Regions from separate parts of the Homo sapiens genome. Here region 1 is linked to region 2. The links are contacts of gene promoters, found by promoter capture Hi-C in human tissues and cell types (Jung and others, 2019). All regions are on one chromosome and are shown on one strand. Each heading gives the region's core, a stretch centred on a gene start or on the middle of the fragment in contact. The rest is flanking DNA. Distances are from core to core; before and after follow the strand shown. Region 1 holds the start of C1QB (complement C1q B chain). Region 2 overlaps ZBTB40 (zinc finger and BTB domain containing 40).

Region 1 (6,153 bases), core at 16-2,515, 160 kb before region 2:
ACAGAAGGGAAGATGGTTGGAGAAGTAAAAAAAGACAATCCCTTTGAAAGACTGTGTTTAGAGGGAGGGGCTCTGTCAGTTGGAGGCAGCAAGGGGTGGAGAGCTGTGACCAGTTGGTGGGGAGAGAGGGTGGGGAGCAGGGTACTGACAGGACTTGGGCTTCCTGGGGAAGCCAGGGGCAGGGGGAGTGGGAAAGTGCTGGTTCTAGCCCATTTCAAAAGCCACCGAGTTTCAGCCTTGGGTTAGGGCTTACAACTCATCTGGTTTAACTGCCTCCTGCCTGTGCCAGCCCATCATCATTGCCAGCGCGGTTTCTCCTGTCCTCCCCCCAGGCTCTGACCTTTCCATCTCCTTCGGTCCAGCAGTCCCTTTCCGCAACATGGAGTCAGGCCCACTTGACTTTAAAGCCCCATCTGCTACCGGCTGCATAACCTCAGGCAAGTGCCTTAACCTCTCTGAGCCTCTTGGCAATGCTGATTTCAACCTGACAGGGCTGCCAGAAGGATGACAGGAGAAGGCGCTTAGAAGAAATAAGGTCCCCCCTGCCCCGTGCAGTGCCACATCCCACTCCCCAGCTGCACAAACATTGCGCTCACTCAGTACTAGCTGAGAACTCATCGTAACTCTACCTGCACATCCCCTTATTTCTTTGGAAGAGTCAAGCTGAGCTTTCTCAGCGAGTATGAGGAAATAAGCAAGGTGTTGGGGAAATGCTGGGCCGGGCAGGAGCGACTGGCTTATAATCCCACTCCTGCCTCTGGTTTACTGATAAATTTTGAGCCAGGGCATGCACTAAGCTTTTGCAAGCTTGATCTCCTGTAAGGCACAGCAGTGCTGAAAGATTCTGTTCTCTGTAGGGGGGCCGGGCTGAGAGAGGTTAGGTGACTTGCCCAAGATAACCAATACATAAGGTGCAGAGCCAGACTCAGCTCAAGTCTCTGCGATGCCAAAGCTCCTATGTGCCAGGCTCCCGCTTTAGGTGGCCTGCCCATCCGCTAGGCCCTGGGTAGCAGCAGACTCCCCAACTCACCCCAGAGATCTGGGTCCCATAGGTCTGGGATTGGGCCCAGCTACCTGCACTGTTAAACAGCCTAACTGGCTCCGAGGCAGGTGACGCAAAGCTCACACTTACGGAATCACCACTTTCTGCCATATTGGCCCTGCCAGCCTCCCCCAGGCGCCAAGCCCCGTCCTCACCTGGGAAGCTGGTGTCCTGTGAGGCCACTGGGCTGAGCAGCAGTGGGACCAGGAGCCGAGAGCCTACTGCCCTCGGTCCGAAGCGGAAGTTCCCTTCCCCAGAGGCGGGAAGGGCTTTCCCCTGACGGTCCCCTCCCATGGACCAGCAGGCTGGCCCCTTTCCCGTCCCCTCACTGTCCCCCCACCCTGCTGCCCTCAGGCAGTTTCAGGTCCTATTTCTGCAACCCACTGGATTTACTGTAAATGAGACGGGTGGGTGGCAAGTTTGGTTCTGCCAACTCAGCAGCTGTGGGGAGAACACGCTGTCCTGGGGGAACATCCACAGCTCACCCTCCCAGGCTCTCTGACCTCGTGATCTTCTTCTACACTGGGCAGGGGTGTTCCTCAGTGAGCATCATGTGGCGGGCCCGCTGCCTGAGTGCTGGCTTACAGTCAGAGCCTTTGATTCCAATCCCGCCTCTGCCACTTGCCAGTTGATGTGTTGTCAGTCAAGGGAGCCCCAATTTTCTCTGCTATAGGATGGGACCATAATTGTACCTGCTCTACAGATACAGATCTCACAGGCCACTGGGAGGATAATGGAGGAAATGATGGGGGAGGAAGTGTCTGGGGGTAAACTGTAAAGGGCTGTGCACGTGTTCATTGTTAATATCACTTCATGTCCCAGGCTTCCCCTTTCTGGGCTCATCTCTTCTGCTTCCTTCCCATTCTGTGCCCCTGCTCTTTCCCTGTTCTCAGAAAATAATCTCATAATGAATTTTAAATGTGTTCATTATTTATTGATACCCCTCCCTCTGCTTCCAGCAGGGCTGGACGCTGATGACAATAATAGGCCCAGGCAGGGGCCTGTTGCTTCTTCTCGATCCTGGAATCACGCCAAGTTAGGGCCGGAGAGGGGCTGAGGTTACTCGGCCCATCCTCCTCATTTTATATACGAGGAAACTGAGGCCCAGAGGGGAGACCCACCATTTAACAAATATTTAGTGTTTGCTTCCATGTGCACTGAAGAGAGAGCTCTTAGCAAATCAGCCATGGTCCCTGCCCCCATGGGGCCTCCCTTCTACGGGGGGAGACTGGTGTTAAACACGGAATGACATGAGGCTTCATTGCTTCTGTGATAAATGTCACAGAAAGACGTGACTGCTGGGGCCGATGCCTCATGGAGGTGGCAGATGCAGACCTGGAAGCCGGCATCCCTGGCACTAGGATATCAGTCTCTCCCTGTGGCTGCGTCTCAGACGACATGATGACTAGCAAGCACCAGGAGCTGGAGGCCCTCTTGACATCTGTGCTTGGAGATGGAAATTCACTGGGCTTGTGGATGCAGCTTGGTGGAAATTAAGTGTTAACTGCAATGGGTGAACAGGAGGGAAAGATAAGTTTGATAAAACCAAAAGGTCTCTGAGCTCAGTCAACTATAGTCCCGAAGGGACCCAGGCTAGGGTGAAGAGAAGAAACACTGGATTCCACAAAGGGAGAAACGAGTTAGTAGGTTGCAAGTTGAGGGCTTCTGAGCATTCCCAAAGCCGAGTGGCTCTGGGCCTCTAGTTCTTTTTTTTTTTTTTTTTCTTGAGATGGAGTCTCAGTCTGTTGCTCAGGCTGGAGTGCAGTGGTGCGACCTCAGCTCACTAGAACCTCTTCCTCCCAAGTTCAAGCGATTCTCCTGCCTCAGCCTCCCAGGTAGCTGGGACTACAGGTGCATGCCACCAAGCCCAGCTAATTTTTGTATTTTTTTTTAGTAGATACAGGGTTTCACCATGTTGGCCAGGCCGGTCTCAAACTCCTGACCTCAAGTTGATCTGCCTGCCTCGGCCTCCCAAAGTGCTGGGATTACAGGCGTGAGCCACCATGCCCAGCCTCTGGGCCTCTAATTCTTAGGTGGCTAAGGGCAATGGGAAAAGATGGATGTCAATTTGGGGTAGAAGCAGTGAGGCTAAGAACAGGAAGCAGCAGAGGTGGGTTAGGAGCACGGACTTTGGCAGTTTGAATCCCAGCTCTTCGTCTTGCTAACTATGTGGCCACGGGAATGTTTACTGGCCTCAGTTTCCTCGTGTAGAAATGGGAAGCATGAACGCCTATCTCCTGGGGCTGTTTTGGGGGCCAGCGAGGTCCCCCTGCCATGTCCAGGGCCAGGTGAGTGCCCAGCCCTTGGTGGGCACCCACTGCAAACATGGGAACGGTATTACTTATATGAAGAGAAGATGGAATTCTTGGAACCCAGGAGCAAAGAAGCCATGCCTGGATTAGGAGGAGGCCTGGACTTGGGGATCAGGAGCTGAGGGGTCCCTGGGCCTTGACCGCTAATGGGAGCCAGCTGGTCTCTGTACCTACAAAATTTTGGACTCACATCCCTGATTGAGAGTGGAAAATCCCTGATCCCTGCAAAGAGTGGAAAAAGAAACCTACACCCCCTCACCTTCCTGTGGTTGGAAAGGGGTTCCTTGCAGCTTGGGGTGTCTTGTCCTGGCTCCTGCCCCACGTCCACCCCTCCTTGCCTGCCCCACTGAAAAACTCTCCCCCGCCTCCCCTCAGCAAGGCAGACACGTTGGCATTTTCAAAGGCTTGCCCCCCTGATGAAGAGAGAACAACAAGGAAACAATTATGGAAAATAAAAATGGCACAAAATTGTCATTTCCAAAGTACAGGTTTCTGATATGACACTGTGACCTACATAAATGGTGTATTGATTTTTTAAACAAAAGAGAAATGAGAAGAAAGACATATCACCCACAGCTTCGCCCGGCCGACAGCTAAGGGGTTGGTGGAGGAGAGCAGTGGATGCTGTGGCCGTGGCCTTCACGCTGTCCCCGCCGGGGGCACTGGACTCAGTGAACCGTCCAGGTTCTTCCGCCCCTGCCTCCTGCTCTCCCACTGTGTATTTCTGTATGTGTATGTGTGTGCATGTGTATGTGTGTATGTGTATGTATGTGTGTATGCGTCTGTGTGTATATCTGTGTGTACATGTGCATGAGTGTCTATGTGTGTATGTGTGTCTATGTGTGTGTCTGTGAATGTATGTGGATGTGTGGATGTCTATGTGTGGGTGTCAATGTGTGTGCATGCATATGCGTGTGGGTATGTGCATGTATATGCGTATATGTGTGTTTCTGTGTGTATGCATATATCTAAGTGTTGTGTGGATACTATATGAGTGTATATGTGTGTGTATGTGTATATATGTGTATGTCTGTGTGTATGTGTATACATGTGTGCGTGTGTATATCTGTGTATATAGGTATATTTTTGTATGTGTATATGTGTGGATGTCTTTGCATGTGTCTGTGTATATATGTGTATAAATATGTGTATGTGTATGCATATGTGTGTGTCTGTGCATGTGCCTATATATGTATGTGTATATGTGTACATATGTGTGTATATGCATATATGTGTGTATGTATACATATGTGTGTATGTATGCATATGTGTGTATGTACATGTCTTTACATGCATGTGTATATGTGTGTATGTGCATATATGTGCGTGTGCATGTGTGTGTGCATGTGTGTGTCTTTCTCTCCCTCCTTCCCATCTTACACACTTTTCATGTCCCTGTTATGTGCCAGGTATGTATGGAAGGGGCCCTGCCCCCACGATTCTTACAGTCTAAAGGGGAGGCAGACCTGTAAGTGACTAAGTGCACAAAAGCTAGTTGGTGGGCTGTGTGCATCAGATTCCCCTGCAAACCGCCAACTCATTTACAGCCTGGGCTTCTCCAGACCTTTATAAAGCAGCCTGGAGTTGAGAAATCTGGTTTTGTTTGTTTTATTTTGTTTTAAATAAGTCTTTAGGTTAATTTTATTCACCATCTGATTTGGGAACCTGGGCTCTAAGGAGTCATGAATTTGTGCCCAAATTTGTGGAGGGCACTGTGGGGACCCAAGGGGTAAATCGGAGAAGGCTTCATGGAGGAGGTGATGTTTGTGTTGACTCCTGACAGTTGAGTGAATGAATATCATCCAGGTGGATGGATGATTTGCATGAGTGGGAGGGACTGCATGGGCAAAGGCAGGGAGGTGTGACACAGCCCCTTTCCCAAACAGAGGAGCCAAAGTGAATGGAGGTGGTTGTAGAACTCAGCTTGAGCCACTGCTCTTAACAGCCCACACCTCAGATGGCTGGTGCTTCCATGACTCCGTGGGGCTTTGTGGAACCAAGCTGTGATCACAGCCAGGACAGGCCAGGTTCTCCCAGGCTAGAGTGAGCCTCGAGTCTGACTGGGTGCTGAGAATTGGACCTGGAGCCTGCATAGGAGAGTTAGACTTTTTATCTTTTTGTACCTGCAACATCAAATTGTGGGCTTCCATCATCCTCCAAGAAGGACCATGGTGGCTGGATCCAACCACCAGCAACCTCACAGTCAAAACTTGATGGCCGGTGGGCAGCAGTGGTTTCAGATCTCCTGGGAGTCCCAGAGTCTGTGAGTTATTTGGGGCAAGTCAGACATCTGGGAGGCCAGTTTTCTCTCTCTGTCTCCCCCTCATGCCCATCTCAGAGCATCTAGGCACAGAAAAGAGAGCTCTTAGCAAATCAGCCATGGTCCCTGCCCCCATGGGGCCTCCCTTCTACGAGGGGAGACTGGTGTTAAACACGGAATGACATGAGGCATCGTTGCCCCTGTGATAATGAATATTAAATGAGTTAATATGTGTAACGTGCTTAGTGTAATGGCTGGCATACACTAAGTGCTCAATAAATGTTAGTTATTATGATTTTTATTCATTCATTCATTTACTCTGCTTTTAGTTATTCACTTACCCACTTATGCAATAATTCATTCACACCAATTTCTTATTCATTCAGCACAAATTCATTGCACATCTTGCCTTTGTCTGTTCTGGGCTTACCCAAGCCCAATTTCCTCCCATAGTAAATGCTCCTGAAGTTCAGCACAGGCCCAGGAAGTCAAACTGACTCCCATTTACCTGTGGGCTTGGATACCTTTAATGATGGCAG
Region 2 (5,988 bases), core at 996-3,495:
GCATGGACAGCCCTGCTCTCTCTGCTCTTTCTTTCAGAACCTACTGGGGACCTACACCAGTGCCAACACTACAGCAGTTACTCCATCAGCCCCCTAAAGCTGCCTAGGGCTCCGCAGTGGAAAAAGCAAGCAGGCCCTTTTCTGCAACAGTTTCTCTGCCTAAACAGAAGGGTATTAGGATATTAGGATAGGCAGGGATTCATCAATTACTATCATGTAACAGAACTCCAAAAGCTGAACCAAAACAGAGTTCTGTTGAAAGGGCTAAGTTCTTTAACCATACATTTGGAACTAACTCTTAATTCTCAGGGGTAAAGGTACTTCAATAAATTCATGTTAATAAGGTCACAGAAGTAATCTAAATACTTTACCTATGAGTGAAATATAGGTAAATATATTTCAAGATGAGACCATTTCTTTTCCCTCTATAAGTGAAAAACCATTTAATCTTTCCCTTAACTCAAGCCTTTTAACTGAGTTGACTTATTTACCCCAATTGTTCGTGTACTGCCTTCAGATCTGTTTGAGTTACACTATATTCTTGTTCACTCAGGCCTCCCTTGACTGCTGAGGGCTGGGTGATGGCAATAATGATAGAGACTACAATCGCTCCACATCATCCTGGACACCGTGCCATCTACCTTCTTCCTCACACCAGGCCTGGGAGGCGTTACTACTACTACTTTAGATGAACTTCAAAGAGGTTAAGTAACTTGCTTAAGGTCACAGGTCTAGTAAGTGGAGTAGCTGGCACCCCTTTCACCTAGTTCTACCTCCCAGATTTAAGCATAATCAAATCTATTTACACTGGGTTCTATTAGACTTACCAGAATCAATACCGGTTTGAATACTGGGTAGTATGTAGACAATCTGTATCACTTTTCTTGGTCTCAATGAATATAAAGACTGGTACATAGTAGGTGCTCAATAAATGTTTAATTGAATAAAATTCCCTTGCCATAAAACCATTAGCCCTTCTATCTATGGCTGCATATCTTAGGCTTAATCATTAACAGAAAGGAGATTTGGAAAAACAACTTATTTTCACCTTTCATAGACCTGTAAAACGAATCTCATTAACTCACTCTCAAGAGGGCTACCCAACCCTGTCAGTGAACAGAGCCCTCCAAACACAGATCTGCATTTGACAAACCTCCAAAGCAGCGACACGGCTGAAAACATCAGATTCACATAGGAGAAGAGATGTGTTTGCCTTTGAAATAAAGTTGAAGGAGAAAAAAATGCTACTAGGTCTTCAGCTTTGGGAGTCTTCTAGATTTTTAGGTGAAGAGTGGACCAAAAAGCACAGAAATCAATAGTAGAAAAATTATCTCCTTATTCTAGTTAAAGATCCACTTTGCTGTATACACAATTAATTAAAAGCAGAGACATGGCTAGGAATAAAGAAGGAAGACAATTTCAGCCTTCATCTTTCTCCCATGCTGGATGCTTCCTGCCCTCGAACATCAGGCTCCAAGTTCTTCAGCATTTGCATTCTTGGACTTACACCGGTGGTTTGCCAAGGGCTCTCCGGCCTTTGGCAAAAGACTGAAGGCTGCACTGCCGGTTTCCCTACTTTTGAGGTTTTGGGACTTGGACTGATCCACCACTGGCTTCCTTGCTCCTCAAGGTACAGACGGCCTATCGTGGGACTTTACCTTGTGACTGTGTGCCACCTACCATGGCTTTGGCCACTTTCTGTTGGATTGCACCTGAAGTTAGAGCAGCTGCTGCCATTTCTGTCACCATGAGGGCAAGCCTTTCTGAAAGTGGAAGCCACAGAGAGGAAGCATTGCTGAGAGACAGGGAGAAAGAACCCAGGTCCTGATGATGGTGTTGCCATACCTGCAGCCAGTCATGGCCAGAGCTATCTCTCCTTCTACACTATGAAGTCACAGGAGCCAACAAGTTAACTTTTTGCATAAGCCAGTTTGGACCAGTAGATTGCACACAGAAGGCGCTCAAAGGAATCCCAGAAGCCCAGCGCTGGAAAGGGCCCCACAATTCAGCTGGTCTGGTGTTCCTTGCGGTACGTGAATGGGTTTACAGCGTCCCCCTACAACTGTCTCTGATATTCCCATGCCTACCCTAACTTAGTTGTTTTATATCAATGTGGTGCCTCCCAGGCAACGTAGTGTCCTGGATGAGAACGGGATCTCTGATGCCTCCATGCTTCTGAGCACTACCTGGTCTGCAGGGACCATGGGTGGTGTCTGAATCCCCAGTGAAATTCCCTGAGCCTCACAGTCCCAGTGGGGCTTGTCTGTCACTGAGTTGCAAGCCACGCTCAATCCCTGGGGATGCTGAGTGCTGTTAATGGACACGTGATGCCAGCTAAATAAAAACAATTTTCAACCTCCAGAAAGTATCCCAGCCACTCACAAAATCATCCACTGTGTCTCATTGTATGCAGGTCTTGTTAGCTCCATGCTGTTCTCGATCTATAGCATCTCTGCTGCCTGCACGTCAGGAGGCAGACACATGTCAGAAAATACAGATGAGAGAACTGGAAAATGCCAGTGCCAGCGTCCTGTCCAACCCCTACCTTGCCTTTATTTGTTTGTTTTTACCCACATGAAAACTGGCACAAAGAGGCAAAACAACTTGCCTAAAGCCACAGAGCAAGTAAGTGGCAGTGTTGAAACTTGTTAGTGCTAATGTCCAGAAGAGTTAAATGATTCCTAAAACGTAAAAAAGGCTGGGTGCGGTGGCTCATGCCTGTAATCCCAGCACTTTGGGAGGCCAAGGCGGGTGGATGGATCACCTGAGGTCAGGAGTTCGAGACCAGCCTGAACAATATGGTGAAACCCCGTCTCTACTAAAAATACAAAAATTAGCCAGGCATGGGTGTGCGTGCCTGTAGTCCCAGCTACTCAGGAGGCTTAGGCAGGAGAACTGCTTGAACCCAGGAGGTGGAGGTTGCAGTGAACTGAGATTGCACCACTGCACTCCAGCCTGGGCAACAGAGCAAGATTCCGTCTCAAAAAAACAAAACAAAACAAAACAAAACAAAAAAAACCTAGCACAAAAACTGAAAAAAAGTATGAGTCTGGCTCTAAATAACAGTTTTACTCAGCTTAGCCAGAGGTCAGAAGTGACCTCTTAGGTCACTACTTGCTTTTCTAATGCGTAAGGGATATTACACTGATATAAAGACAGGCAGAAGACATGTTCCCATCCCAGCACCCAAGAGATTTCTCTTTAATAAGTTTTGGCTTTGATTTCTCACAATTCAAGTAGCCCAGCTTCTTCTCATGTTGCTGCAATCGCTGTTCAGGGAATGGCTTTGCCACCTTTCATCACTGATCTCAGGAAATAAAATAATCAGGACACTAGTTCATGGTGTCCTCCCTAAACTCAATCCTGCCCAGGTGCACACCTCACAGCTGTGTTTCAGAAACGGAATGACACATCCAGGAGTAGACTATTTTTAACGTTAAGCTGTTCTCAAGTTAAGATTAACTAAACAACAACCAATCACAGGATACCACTCAAAGCTCTTGGGGAGCTAAAAATGTATAAACAGAAAAACAAAATACCCCAAACTGTAAAATTGTACGGAAATGTGAAACAACGTTGTTCTAAGTGAACAGCTCTTAAATGCGCTCATTGCTGAAGCCTTATGGTGAAATCTGTAATTTGGCGACTCCTCTGCATACTTCCCCCAAAATAATCACACACGTGGCAGGATTTCTCTGCTGTCAAGATACTCTTTAAGGACAGGGATCAAGTCTTATTGAAGTTTCTCTGCCTAGCAAGCGGCTCAGTCTGGCACATATCAGTTGCTCAGTAAACATCTGCTAAATCAAAGGGTAAGCAAATGAGGAAAATGGGTATTCGGTGGCCTCTCATGCCACTGAAAGGTGCCAGCACAGACATTATGACATCTGCCATCACACACTAAGAGTTTTGTAAGCCATTCACTTCTCCAACTATGCTTCTCAAAATGTAGTCTACAGGTTCCAAAACAGCAACCCATGGGGGAGCCTGTTAAATATGTAGATTCTCAAGTTCTAACACAGCCTAAGAATCAGACACCATGGAAATGAGTTCTGGAGGTATACATTTTAACAAGCACCTCAGATGATTTTTCTATACATTGCTAGAGACTGATTGCTACGTACTAGACACTACCCCTGCAGTACAGGAAGCTACTTCCTCTAGACACTGTTCTAGAAAGTGATTGCTTCAGACTAGACACTGCCCTTGCAGTTTAGGAAGCTACTTCCAAGTGGATGGTGGTACCTATCTGAAAGCATGCCTTACAAATTAAGCTTAAAGTAACAGCAAACCATCTCGTGTCAGAGTAAATGGCCATGGCACCAGGATATTATAAGACATTCAGTGAAAAGGGGGTTTCAAGGTCTGTTAGGTCTAAAAATACTGAGTTAATGTAAAAACAAACAATAGCAGTTGTTACCTACTGACCTCCTACTGAGTGCCTGGCATTTTACTATGAGTTTTATATAAATAATCTTAATTCACAATGACCCCATGATGTAGGTGATAGTATCCCCTTTTTACAAACGAGGACACTGAGGCTTATAAAGATGAAGCTGCCTAAAGTCACAATGCTAGTAAATAGTAGAGGTGGATAAATGAATTGTATATCCACACAATGCATACAACTCAGCAATAAGAAGGAATGAACACACAACACTAGGGGCGTACCTCTGTAGAATTCACAGAAAAAGAAAAAAGGAAAAAAAAAAAAAAACATGGGTGAATCTCAAGATACTTACGCTCAATGAAAGCCAGACAAAAAATACACACCATATGACTCCATTTATACAATACTCTAGAAAATACAAACTTACGTACAGTGACCGAAAGCAGACCAGTGGTTACCCAGGGCATGGGTAAGTGGAAGGGGCAGGAGAGAGGGGTAGTACACAGGGACAAGAAGAAACTTTTGGGGGTGATGGAGATGTTTACCATCTTAACTGTGGTGATGGTTTCAGGGCATATACCAAAACTAATCACACTGTACACCATACCTAGCTACAGGTTACTGCATGTCAGTCATAGCTCAACAAGGCTGTCTGAAACAAAGTATGAGAGAGAGACAGAGAGAGAGAGAAGTAGAGGCCGAAGTACAAAGCAGCATCTCCCTAACTCTCTATTTAATCTTATATTCTTAAAGTATCTGTTCCCTTTTTCTTTCTGAAGTTCAAAGGTTATGGACTGTAACAGAATTGGCTTTAAAAACAGCCACCAAGTGATTTGCAGAGCTCCTACTCTGACCTCTAAAACTGAGGAAGAAATAACATAAGCCTATAATGATCACCAACAGCAAATCAGTGTTCTTTTGAAGTATATTAATGATATTGCCATCAAAAGATTAGAACAAGAAATGGAAAAAAAGAAATGTTGAACGAATGCATGTATAACAGACATTTCTTCATCACCTGTTACATGCCACATACTTTTAGGTACCAATGTTAAAAAAAATGCATAAGACACAGTTCAACTAAGTATAAAGGTGACACTAATAACTTGAGTATTGCTGATCTAAGGAATAACGTTACTCCTCTGTAGCCAAAGTTAAGTGGAGAGGAAGCTTTAAGAGAAAATGAAGAGGTGTGTTTAGAAGCTATCAAGGTAACAAACTAATGACAAAAATGATGGATTGAACAGTTAAGAGAACACGCAAGTGCAAAAATATAAAACCATAATGTCCTTCAGCATAATCAGTACAAAGAGTACCAAGGATTTATGACTTGAAACCTCCCAAAGAGAGTCATCAGGGTTAGCCTAGCCTTGTAAATAGCTTGTCTCCCAAGAAAACAATGTATAGTCGACTGTCAGTTAACACAGCTAAAATAAATACTAGACCTTGAATTTGTTTTTTAAAAAAGTTGCTATGAATCAGGAAAACATTTAATTATTAGAAGGCATGTATTACTTGGACTAATACAAAATTGCCTATAGCAACATGGGAGGATCGGCCCACACTACCCCCTACCAATCAGAGGAGCAAGCCTGCCG

Evidence for each region. The method cuts DNA at HindIII sites, captures the fragments that hold promoters and counts their contacts. A contact is called where the count stands out against the background at its distance.
Region 1: a contact is called between the fragment with the promoter of C1QB here and a fragment that was not itself captured in region 2, in 3 of the 25 tissues and cell types used here (IMR-90 fibroblasts, mesendoderm cells and pancreas).

Annotation. Positions count from the first base shown.
Region 1 is chr1:22,648,348-22,654,500 of GRCh38, reverse strand. C1QB (complement C1q B chain) reads right to left here and starts at 1,265. Exons shown (of 3, transcript NM_001378156.1): 1 at 1,198-1,265. The HindIII fragment of the contact is 7,433 bases long and covers 1-6,153 here.
Region 2 is chr1:22,492,524-22,498,511 of GRCh38, reverse strand. All of the region lies in intron 3 of ZBTB40 (zinc finger and BTB domain containing 40), which reads right to left. Among named protein-coding and RNA genes, the nearest start is that of ZBTB40, 44 kb to the right of the region's middle. The HindIII fragment of the contact is 5,344 bases long and covers 1-4,917 here.